2 separate regions of the Homo sapiens genome follow, and region 2 is linked to region 1. The links are contacts of gene promoters, found by promoter capture Hi-C in blood cells and fetal thymus (Javierre and others, 2016). All regions are on one chromosome and are shown on one strand. The core of a region is centred on a gene start or on the middle of the fragment in contact, and the rest is flanking DNA. Distances in the headings are between cores, read along the strand shown. Region 1 holds the start of FBXO8 (F-box protein 8). Region 2 overlaps SPCS3 (signal peptidase complex subunit 3).

Evidence for each region. Contacts are between HindIII fragments. The CHiCAGO score rates a contact against its expected background, and 5 or more counts as called.
Region 2: a contact is called between a fragment that was not itself captured here and the fragment with the promoter of FBXO8 in region 1, in 9 of 17 cell types (non-activated CD4 T cells, total CD8 T cells, naive CD8 T cells and 6 more). The highest score is 17.6, in non-activated CD4 T cells.

What each region holds. Positions count from the first base shown.
Region 1 is chr4:174,281,572-174,287,704 of GRCh38, forward strand. It overlaps FBXO8 (F-box protein 8), which reads right to left and starts at 2,096. Exons shown (of 6, transcript NM_012180.3): 1 at 1,839-2,096. It overlaps CEP44 (centrosomal protein 44), which reads left to right and starts at 2,340. Exons shown (of 12, transcript NM_001040157.3): 1 at 2,340-2,372. RefSeq lists an enhancer at 2,291-2,540 and a silencer at 2,305-2,572. The HindIII fragment of the contact is 4,999 bases long and covers 1-4,671 here.
Region 2 is chr4:176,332,208-176,337,599 of GRCh38, forward strand. SPCS3 (signal peptidase complex subunit 3) reads left to right here. Exons shown (of 5, transcript NM_021928.4): 5 at 1-38. Among named protein-coding and RNA genes, the nearest start is that of SPCS3-AS1, 14 kb to the left of the region's middle. The HindIII fragment of the contact is 4,185 bases long and covers 829-5,013 here.

The DNA.
Region 1 (6,133 bases), core at 846-3,345:
CAGGTACTCTGAAGGCTGAGGTGGGAGGGAGAATTGCTTGAACCTAGGAGGTCAAGGCTACAGTGAGTCTTGTTCGCACCACTGCACTCCAGCCTGGGCAACAGAATAAAAATCTGTCTCAAAAAAATACTTGCCCCAAATATGATATAAATTTATTCAAGTCAGCCAAAAATGTTTTAGTTTATTAGAGAGCTAAGTCAAGAAATTTGTCAGAAAAACAAAACAATGAGAGCAAAACGAAAAAGAAATAGTGAACATAAATTTCCAGAAATAGATGTATTTCATTTAAATTGTTTAAAAAATTATTTAAGTAAAATAATTCAAGAAAAAGAAACAGAAATTAAATGCATAATTCTTAGACTTTAGTATTAATGATTTTGATGCATTATCATGGGTCAGTCAATGGAATAGTGCCAGTTTCCAAATCTGAATCAAAATGAGGAAAAAATTAGTTGTACATTAGCAGTTGGTTAAATAATAAACCATAAAGTTACAAATCTGAATGACTAATTTCAACACACTGTGATTAAAGATTTGGTAATTCAATGTTTTTATATTGTAAAATGAGGAAGATATCTTTTAACCTAGCAACAGTAAACACACAAAACATTCCCCATTAAAGTGACCATATGTAATAAATTATGATCAATGTTTTGGCTTATCTAGAAGTTACTATAATATTTTGTGGATGGAAGTAATTGATCCAAGGGCCCCAAGTAATATTAGTTAATTTGCTGTAACTTATTATTAAATGAAGTTACGCTGCACCCTAATTCCTGATGTACAGAAACTGATAATATTTGTTGTTTTAAGCTGGGGTAAATTTGGGGGTAATTTGTTACCCAGCAATAGACAACTAATGAAGTACCTCATCAGACATATTGTCAGGTTAATTGGCTAAAGATGAATTTCTGACCCAATATGAAAAAAATAATAAAACTTATGCATTCTTTATTCTGAAACCTACTCTGTTTCACATATCATTTTCGTGAAGGGTAGAGTTGAGAAGTGTGTAGAGCTCCTACCTCAGAAATACATTACTTCAAACATTAAAAGAAGGAAGAGGAAAGCTGAAATAGAAAACATAAATTGTCTTCACTTTACCGTAATAAAAATCATGATATATTCATTTGTGGATATACACCTAGGAGCCTTGAAAATGAATATTTTACTTGTAAAACAAGTAGAATCAATTATTTTATTAGTAAATTCATACAGAACCTAAAAATAAAACTAAAAAAATTAAATGACTGAGGATTGGGATCCATTTATGTGATTTTGCCAAATAAATATTGAGAACCTTCTACGTAAGAGATTAGAACCCAGTCGCTGAGAAACAAATAAAAGACAAGTTTGACAAGTTTTATAACCCAAGTTTGACTACTGTAGCAGCTAGCAATCCATCGTGATCTTAACTATACTTGTGTTTGCATTCATATTACTGGAAAGTGGTAAAGAACCAAAAACTGTCTAGGAACCAAAATAACACTCGACCCGAAAACCAACACTTGGACCTGAAGAAAGTAACCCTTGTCATTTCTCAGGTTTATTTCACAATGACGCTGGGTTACTACTTGGAGTCCTAAACCGAACTACACCCCAATGGCCTAGAAACAGAAGGAACACACCCAGTTCCGCCTCCTGACAGTGATTCCTCACTTTAATGAGCCACCACTACTGTCACTCAAGATGCTTCGCACTGTCATTGGTCGCAAACTCTTGCTGGTCGGCCAGTTTCGGCCAACTGGCAAGCACTGGTTGTCTTTATTTTCGAGAAAAGTGAAGGTGAACAGGGAAAAGAGACAAGAGATCTAAAATATCTAGGTTGACTCCTGTACCTGAGCGACCTGCGATCTCCACCGCCGCCGCGACGAATTGGCCTCTGGGCGGGGACTTTTAGCCAAAAGGAAAATGGCTCAGCCGGGAACTGGTGCCCAGGCCATGGAGAAGCTGATTCAAACTTTACTTGTCCACACCGGTAGAGGTGACCGCGATGAGAATACCAGAAACAGCACTACGACCCTCAGAACTCAGGGTACCTCCAGCTGCAGGGGCCAGAACTGCCGACTATCCCAATTTTGACGTTTCCTATTGTTGCCGGAAGTGACGTTAGGCTCCGACTCTTAACGGAGACGCATTTTTATTTCTGTTGTTTACGATTCGCTATAGATTCCTTGTTTCTCACTTCGTAGCACGAGCCACTCTGACCATCAAGATCAGAAAAACTTCTCAGCTGCAAGTTAGAAGTGGACTGGCCATTGAGGAGGCTCTCAGCGGAGTCGCTCTTCACAGGAGTCTTGAACGCGGTGTGGAATCGGCAGCGAGGAATCCTGGAGCACAGAGAAGCTCCCAGCTTTGAAGGTCTTGCGGTGGTGCGTGGCGGGCAGGAACCCACAATTCCAAATACAAACGGTCGGCGCGAGAAGCGCTTCTGGGCGCAGGCGCCTGGCTGTAGCGACTGGTTGCGGGAGGCTGGACTCTGGTGACTGTGTATGGTTGCATATGCTCCGTTTTCCTCTCCCTGTCGTGCTGGGCCTTTGAAACCGGCTTCTTTGCTGGTGGCTGCTTGGTGAGCCCCGAGGAGACGGCAAGGCTGCGCCTGGTATTGGGCGGAGGTCGCCTCTCTCCGCCGTCCTTACAGAGACCCCGGGCGGAGACGAATGACCAGATCCGCCTTTTCATTCTTTTAAATCAAATGGCGGGAGGGGAGCCTTGCTTATATACCCAACTAGTATATGCTTTTAGTCACAACGAAGTGGGAAGTATCGTGGTAGCTCATCCTATCAGAATTAGGTTGTGACTTAGGGTTGGAAAGTTATAGGCTTACTGATTCCTATTGGATCCTCTGGGGTGAGGATACAAACGGCTCCTGACTATAAGGAAGACAGGACAGCAGTTCGTGTTTTCCTTGTTGGCATTTCCCCAGCTTTTCAAATATTTCTCCACCTTTATTGAAGGCTACAGATTTTTCCCTCACTGTAACAAGTTAATCTTGAAGTTGTTATTCTCTTTTACTCTGGAATTATGGCCATGCTAGACTGTTTTTTTCCCGAATTATCTGCAGACCTTTTAATTTTATGTGTGAACACAGCAGTCCCGTTGAACTCTTTACTTGTCCCTTACTCCTCCCCACTCCCGCCCAGCTTTCTCGATGCTTTGCCTTTCTCAGACCTTTCTCCTATCTCTTAGAGAAGTATTTCCCTAATATCTTTTGCAGTTTCATAAACTGTTTTTCTCATCTTTACTTTTTTGTTTTTGATACGTGTTTTTAGATAATATCGAGCATTATGTGCTATGTCACAAACTCTTAGCCATTGACTGTTATTAGAGTCAGTGTAGTTGCTTCATTCTAAACAAAAATCACTCTGGTCCAGTGACATTCTATTGGGAGGCATTGTTTTAATGACCTCTAACAGCAATGAGATTGAGCGATGTTGAAAATCCTAAACTGCTAGAGTACACTATTTTCACAACCTCTCCCACAAGTTCAATTGCGCAGATCTGACTTGTAGACAAGGAAGGAAGCTAGAAAGGAATATTGAGAGCTTCTTTATTATTGAATCTATGCTGCAAGCTGAGTGGTATCTCCTTTTTTCCTTAGTTTGCCTTTGATCAGTGCTATAAGTTGAAAATGTTAAATTTTTAAAAGTATTTTTCATTAATGAAAGTAAGGTGTTAAAATGTACATAAGTAATAGATTGGCTTCTTTTAATGTCTTGTTTTTAAGGCTTTTGAATTTTATAGTAGACTTAGTAAAGCCCTTTGTGAGAATGTAGAGCAGTAGCTGTAATTTTATTCTGTGATAATCCCAATTTTAAATCCCTTTATTTTTCTGTCTCCTATCACTTACCTCGTTCACGAGCTCTGCTTGTATTACTCTTCAAAATATTTATTCACTGGTACTGAAGAGAGACATAACTTTGTTGTCAGAAATTCCATTATCAGAGGTAGAAATCATGTAAGAGACACTGAAATGTTTTCCAAAATGTCAGAAAAAGGAAAGGTGAGAAGATATCATAAAGTGTTACGTAAAACAGAATTACTTGCACTGGGAAAATGGAATATACATCTGGAAGGACTAAAGGAAGTCTGGAAAGACATAGAATTTACATTAAAGTTACTGGGAAGAAGGTATCCCTAGAAGAATTGTGTTACGATAGATGGGTCTGGAACCCGAAAGAAGCTCAGACCTACTATATTGGCCAGTGGCAAAATCCAAGAATACATTTTTTGCGGTTAAAGCCAGAGTAGTCCTCACTTCATGTTTTTCAGGAAAGTAAAGGCTTATCTTGGGAAATCCCTTTTAGGCTTCCGTGTGTCCATCTACCCCCAGTCAGTCTAAAGGATATTAAATAGGGTTTACCTTCTTGGCCAGTGTTTTGTATAATGTGATTTCAGGATGACTTTCTCTTTTTCTAGTTATCTCCCATTTGACAGTACCTAAAATTATCTCTGTCTAGAAATGTAAATGTTTAGTTGAAGTAATTTATTGGCTGAAAAATAGTGACTAAAATGTGCATGCACAAGTCTATAAAGTATATTCAATAAGCTGTTGCCTACCATGTTGATAAAGGAGACTAGGAACAGAAAGGTAGGTTCATAAAGAGGGAGCAGTTGCTCTACCCTGGGGAAATGGCTGTGGAAATGAGTGGCGAGGGGCTTAAAGTAGGAAGCTTACTAAATTTAGGATTTTGTAAATCGGTGACCTTCTTACCTTTCCTTATTTAAAGATAGAGAAACGGTGTGTAAAGGGATGATTTGTATCCTGGACAGCTGGGTAATGCGAATTGGAGGAAAAGATCACACTAACCCAGCTTCACCTGATTTATGAATTGTTCTGTTTTCATTTTAATATAATGACTTCATTTTAATGTGATAACTTCATTTTAAAGGAGCTTCATTCTCAAAGGGTTCATTACTCAAGGTATTGTTATGTATTACTTTTCTTCTATGAAGTGTCCATGGACAGTTGTGGTAGATGTTTTTATGTAAGTTATTGAGTTTCACGTTACTGGCTGACTAGACTTTTATAGTTCAGAAACTTACCTCCTTCCAGCAAAGGTTCTTAATCGTTTATATACCTATTTATGACTCTTCTTTGGGAAAAATCTCCTTTGATAATCTAATGAAAGTCCCACTCCATGCAAGAAAATTAGTCATTTAGAAATAAATTCCATGCTATTACTTTTGGGGCAGTTTTTAAAAAATGAATCATTTTGTTTAAAGTCTCAGTTCGTTCAAATCTTTTGGTTCACGTATGTGTTTTTCTGTTGTGTACATTCTTCAGAGTCATATTCCTGTTTCATAGGCCCCATGTATGTCAGCTTTTAGTAGGTATCACCAGTAAGTTTTCCAAAATAATTGTACCATTTACTCTTTCTGTAAAAAGCATAGATATTTTGAATTTCTTGCCTTTTTTTCTGTGTTCACCTTTTCTTCTTGGAAGTAGACAGCTGGCTAACCAGCAGGAGTTTGGGACCGATGACAGTGCAAAACATCTTGACTGACAATGGTGGTGGCTTATTAAAGTGAAGAATCAGCATCAAGAGGGGGAATCGGTGTATTCCTTCTATTTCTAGGCCATTGGGATATAGGTCGTTATGGGACCCCAGGTAGTAACCCAGCTCATTCTGAAATAGAGCTGAGAAATGACAAGGATTAAGTGTTGCTTTTCAGGTAGAGTGCTATTTTGGACCCTTGGCACAGATTTTGGTTCTTTATTATGATAAGTACCAAGAAGGAAAAGAACTGGGTCTATTAGAGAAAATTAATGAGGGGGATTAATTAGTTTGGGATCTAAGACTTATTTGAGGTGGTGACATTTAAGCAGGATGCCGAGGGGTATTAGCCAGATGGAGAATGGGAGAGGGAAGGAGTTGCTCTGTATCTCTTCAAGCTTGAAGAAATGGCATGTGCAAAGGTGTTGAACAGCTTGAGATATCACCAAACATCCTTATCCAGGTCCAGGAACTTTATCCCAGATACCATTTCTGTTATTTGTTGCTTTCTATAATATTTTAAATTAACTAAATCACACACATTCTCTTTTTCATCATTACTTGGTAAGTGGAATGTTTTGATTTTCCCTTCTGGTTATGATTTACATGTATTAACTTATTAATACACGAAGATC
Region 2 (5,392 bases), core at 1,671-4,170, 2.1 Mb after region 1:
ACATAATAGGCGCCCAATAAATATTGATGAAGAATGAAGGCGTTGTGTTTCTAATGTGACCAAACCATGGGGATTCTTTGTCATTAATACCGTCCTCCTTTGTAAGTGCTGTTTTTTTTTTTTCATTCTTGAGCTCCTAATGACATTAGATCTTATCAGGGGCAGTTGGACAGTTCAGTAAAGGTAAATGCTGCTCTTGCTCTAGTTGCTGTGACCTATGTTCTTTCTGACTTGCTAAGAGAGCCAAGTGATAGTGGCTAGTGATAAGATTGATACATAAATTGCTTTACTTTGAAATAACACTGGAAAACCCTACCGTAGACCTGATCAAGAAAAAAAAAAAAACTCAGGATGCATGTTTAAAGTATAGCTCAGGAAGAAATGGGTTAAAACAAATAGCTGACTCTTTGAAAGGCCAGGGTGTTGGCTGATCCTCCACCAGCTTCTTGGGCACATTGGCTGGTCTGGCTCACTAAGGGAACGTTTATTTACTAGTGAATTCAGACAATCAAAACAGAAATACCCCCTCAAAACAACAGAAAATCATTGCATTTAGAGGGTAAGGGATTTTAACCTAAGTGTATGTTACCAGGAATGATAAAAGAGGTCAGCTACATTTTATTTTGTTTTCTCTCAACCTGGGCAAGTGTATACCAGAACTTTCTCTTTTAAACGTTTTTCCTCATACTCTCTTGTCCTTTTCCCTCTCTCCCAGTGAAGTGTTAAGAATTCGGAGTTCAGTAAATTGTTGCCTGATTAATGAGTTGCCATGACCAAAAGAAAACTTACCACTTTAATAAGTATACCTTTATATCCAAATAAACCTCAAGCTTGAAGGAGCTTTGAAGTGTTCCCTTTTCATGTGCATAATTTATACACATTCCACTTGTGTATCTGTTGAGTATAGTTGGAAATAGGCACCTAAGAGTTGAGAAGTAAAGGGACTGATTAGTACTATACTGGAGACAAAGCCTCTGTGCATTTCTTCTAAAAAGTACCATGTTTGTGCTCCTAAGCCCTATGCTTGCTCGTGAGTGGCTTGGAATGGCTGCAAGCTCCCTAGTGAGTGAGTACAAAGGGTGGGAAGGAATCTAACAGATGTGAGTGGGGAGGAAGTGGGTTCTGACATGCGCTGAGGAATCTGAAACAAATTCATCTTATAAGTCTGCTCAAGGTTGTGTGGGTCTCGCTCAAATTTATTTGAGAAATCCATGGCTTATCCAACTGTGCAGCCTCTGCTGCTGCTTTAAGAATCTCTAAATGCTGTTAATTCTCTGCACGTGCACCGACAACCCAGGATGACTAAAAGTCTAACTGGGAATCACACTTAATTGAGATTAAGAGAGAGATTGATTGCTACCTGACTCTTGCCCTCATCTCAACATTTGAAAGTCTGATTAAACATTCTGTTAGTTAAAATAACACCAAGTGCTATGATAGGTGACATCAAACTTTTGGTAGCATAAGAAAAAGTTTGGGCACGGTGGCTCACGCCTATAATCCCAGCACTTTGGGAGGCTGAGGGGGATAGATCACGACATCAGGAGTTCAAGACTAGCCTAGCCAACATGGTGAAACCCCATCTCTACTAAAAATACAAAGATTAGCTGGGCATGGTGGCATGTGCCTGTAATCCCAGCTACTGGGGAGGCTGAGGCAGGAGAACTGCTTGAACCTGGACCTGGGAGGCGGAAGTTGCAGTGAACCAAGAGCTCCACTGCACTCCAGCCTGGGCTACAGAGTGAGACTCCATCTCAAAAGAAAACAAAAGTTTATTTCTCGTTTTTACAAGGAACCAATGTGGGTATTGAGGCAGCTTTCCACATGGTGTGACTGAAGGACCCAGGTGTCTTCCAGCTTGTGACTGCCGCCCCAGGGTTGACAAGACCTCACTTGAAGTTGGCAGTCTGGGGTTGAGGAAAAGAGTGGAGAAGGCCCACCTGCTTAATTAGCTTCGCCCAGAGTATCACACCACCAACTCGCATTCCAAGGGTGAAAACGAATTGCACGTCCCTGTGCAGATAAGCAAGGGGCATCTGGGAAGTACAATCTTTAGTTGGGTAATCACTTCTCAGGAACAACTATGTGGTGGATGGGAAGCATAAATCTTTCTCACATAGTCATTCTATCACTTTCTGCTTATGCTCACCAGCTTAAGCTGACCAGCCCCTGTTGTATCCCAGCAGGGAATACCAGTTTATTATAGTCAACATTTATTTATCTTTTTGTGTCTTGTCTGTAGTGCATTAAGGATTTTCTGAAGGTGAGCATATTAGATGTTAAGGGTTAGATTTTAAAGCACTTATCAGGCATGAGTTACCTGATCTAATCTCTAGCCTAATCATCCAGTACTTAATTTTTTTTTCCTGGAACATTATTTCCTTACTTTGCAGCAGCATTTATAGCTCTTGCTGCCCTTGGGAATATATATATACACACACACACACACACACACACACACACACACATATATACATATATATATGTTTCATGTTTGTCAGTTTCATGAGCAAGAAGGCTATGTTTATCTTGTTCATTTTACTATAAGACACTACATATTTACTGAGTAAATTGAATTAAAAGCAAAAAATGTGTGATTAATTTTAGTTATATTGGCTTACACAGGTGTTTTGTCTCATGTAAGGTAGGCATTTCAGGACATTCCATGACAGATTTTCAGAGGATAAATGAACTGGGTTTTTACTGTAAAATGTAATCTATCTCCTAGTAGTATCTCAGTGATAAATGTTTAACATTAATGGTAAAGGGAGGTATATGGAGTAACTTATATTTGAAAAGTATTAGGCTAAGGACATTCATAAGTCCTTGTGAATTAATGTCTTTCACCTTTTTTTTTACATTTGTAATGGAAAAAAGGAAATGTGGAAAAGTTTATGAGATATTTGTATATAGTTTACTGAATAATATAAAGCATGTGCCTTTGTAACTACTACTCAGATCAGCAGTTGGAACAATACTATTACTCCATGCCTCCCTCCCTATACTTCTTCTGGATCACAACCTGTTACCTTTCTGCGGTCTTCAGTTTTGTGTTAGCCATTTTCTTGCCTTGCTTGAAAAGTTTACTACCTCTGTTGCATCCTATCAGCTTTACTGCCATCATGGACAATAGGAACATCTCAGTGGCTTACAAAAACAAATGTGTATTTCTTGCATCAATAGGGGCTTAGGATATACTCCTCACATCTCTTCATTCCAGATTCCACATTGAGAGAAAAGTTCCTTTTGGGATTCCAAAGGGCAGTTAGAACTGTTGGAAACTCTTGGAGCCTCTGATTGAAGGTGATGAGCATCAGTCTACTCCTTTAATTGACTCAAGTATGTCACATGGCAAAGCCAAGGAGTTGAAGGGTTGGGGAGCTAGATTCCATAGGGAAAGAGCACAAGTCACATGGCACTGAGTAATACTCTTACAGGAAAGGAGGAGGGAATTCTTAGAAATGTAATATAAGCTATCACACATTCCTAAGCGATACAGTTTGGTTTGGTTTGGTTATGAACATAAATGTAATCTTACCATAAGAATTTTTGGTCTTGCTGCTTTGGCTTAGCATTAACTTTAAGAGAATCATTTATGTTTTTGTGTGAAGGTGTAGTTCATTTTCATTGTTAGGCAGTAATTCATTGTAATATAGTCATCCATAGTAGGCATCCGGAGTAGGCATAATTTATTTACCTGTTCTGTTGACAGACATGTGCTCTGAATGTTCTTGTACAGGTAGCCTGGTGTATGTGTTTCTCTAGGAAAGGGATCTTCACATTTTGTTGCTTGTGTAGCACATCAAAGATTTTTTTTAAACTTTCTTAAATACTGAAAAATTTTCATCTTGTCATAGAATGTAATTTTTGGCACATTGCAAGTATTAACATTTTAAAGTACCAACTGCACATTACTTTTTTTTGCATTACTTTAAAAATGTATCTAAATGTATCCAGTGGAATATGGTATTTATATGATTTGATAGAATCATTCATTTTCTAATGAACAAATTCTTCCTTAGTGGTCAAAGTTCTTATCATTTCTTTTTCAAATTATATTTACATGCCTCTAGCAAAATTTTGTCCTAATGGGTAATACTCTAGAGAGTGCTATTTTCAAGTCTTTTATTAATAACTGTACCACATTTCTTTGTAACAAAAATGTGCATGTAAATTGAAATTTATCTTTTACAATTTCCTCTGACCCCAATATTCTAAGTTCTAAGGGTGTAAAAGTTATTCTGGAGTAAGTTAATTCTGCAGTTATCAATAGTACACAGTTGATCAAAACAAGAAGTATATTAGAAATGTGATAGATAATCGTAACTCTTGATGAGATGGAATTAGATATGGGAGGGGATAATTTATGTTGCTTTCATTAAGGGAATTATTAAATTATTTCTTTGTCCCCAAGGTTTGATGCCTTGTGGCAGTGCACCATAGCAAGATTCTGGATGAGGTGAGGCTTTCTTTGTGAAAGGGATGATGGAGGGAAAGAACCTCAAGCCTGGGCGCATTACCAGCCAGATCACTTTAGAAGTACGTGTGAGAGCAGAGCTGATTTCCATACAGCTGTCTGTCACCATGCACAAAGTTCCATGTTCCTCCTAATCGAAGACCACTGCTCTAGCATACACACCTAAGATTGGAAATTCCTAAGTCTTATGGAATTCATATCAACATCTTTACTATATATTACCAAACTTTCCCAAAGTGGTTTTTCCAAGTGTGAGTTCTCTTTGCCTAAATTTGGGTTTGCAGACTTTAGTTTTTGCCAAGCTGGTGAATAACCAATGGTATCTTATTTTGGTTGTAAATTATATTTCTCTGTTTGCTAAAATGAGAAACTTCTATTCATGTTTATTGTTCATTTGGATTTCTTTTGTAAGGTGCCTGTTCAAATTTTGCCCATTTTCTATTTGTCTTATTGATTTGTAGGATTTCTTTGTATACTCTCAGTTTGAGTCTTCTAGCTTACCCCTTCACTTTTTCATGGTTCCTTTTGATCAATCAAGCTTCTTAATATAATCAAATGTATCAGGCTTTTCTTTCATTCAATAATGCTCTTTTAACCTTTCTCCCAGCTTCTTCAGTGTTATGAAATAGAAAGTGTCTTAGTTTTGAAGTCAGCAATATCTGGGTTTGGATTCTGGTATAGCCACTTTCTAGCAATGTGAAATTGGCTAAGCAATGCTCACTAGAGTAAGTTGTCTAAGCCTTATGTTTGATATTCATTGTTTGTGCCTGGCATTATTATGTGTGCTTTGCATATATTAAACTGAATGCTAACAACAACCCTACGAGGTAGGTACTATTATCATTCCCATTTTAAAGAAAAAGAAGCTGAGATCAAGATAGGTGAGTAACTTGCTCCAGGTCAGTATGGTAGGTA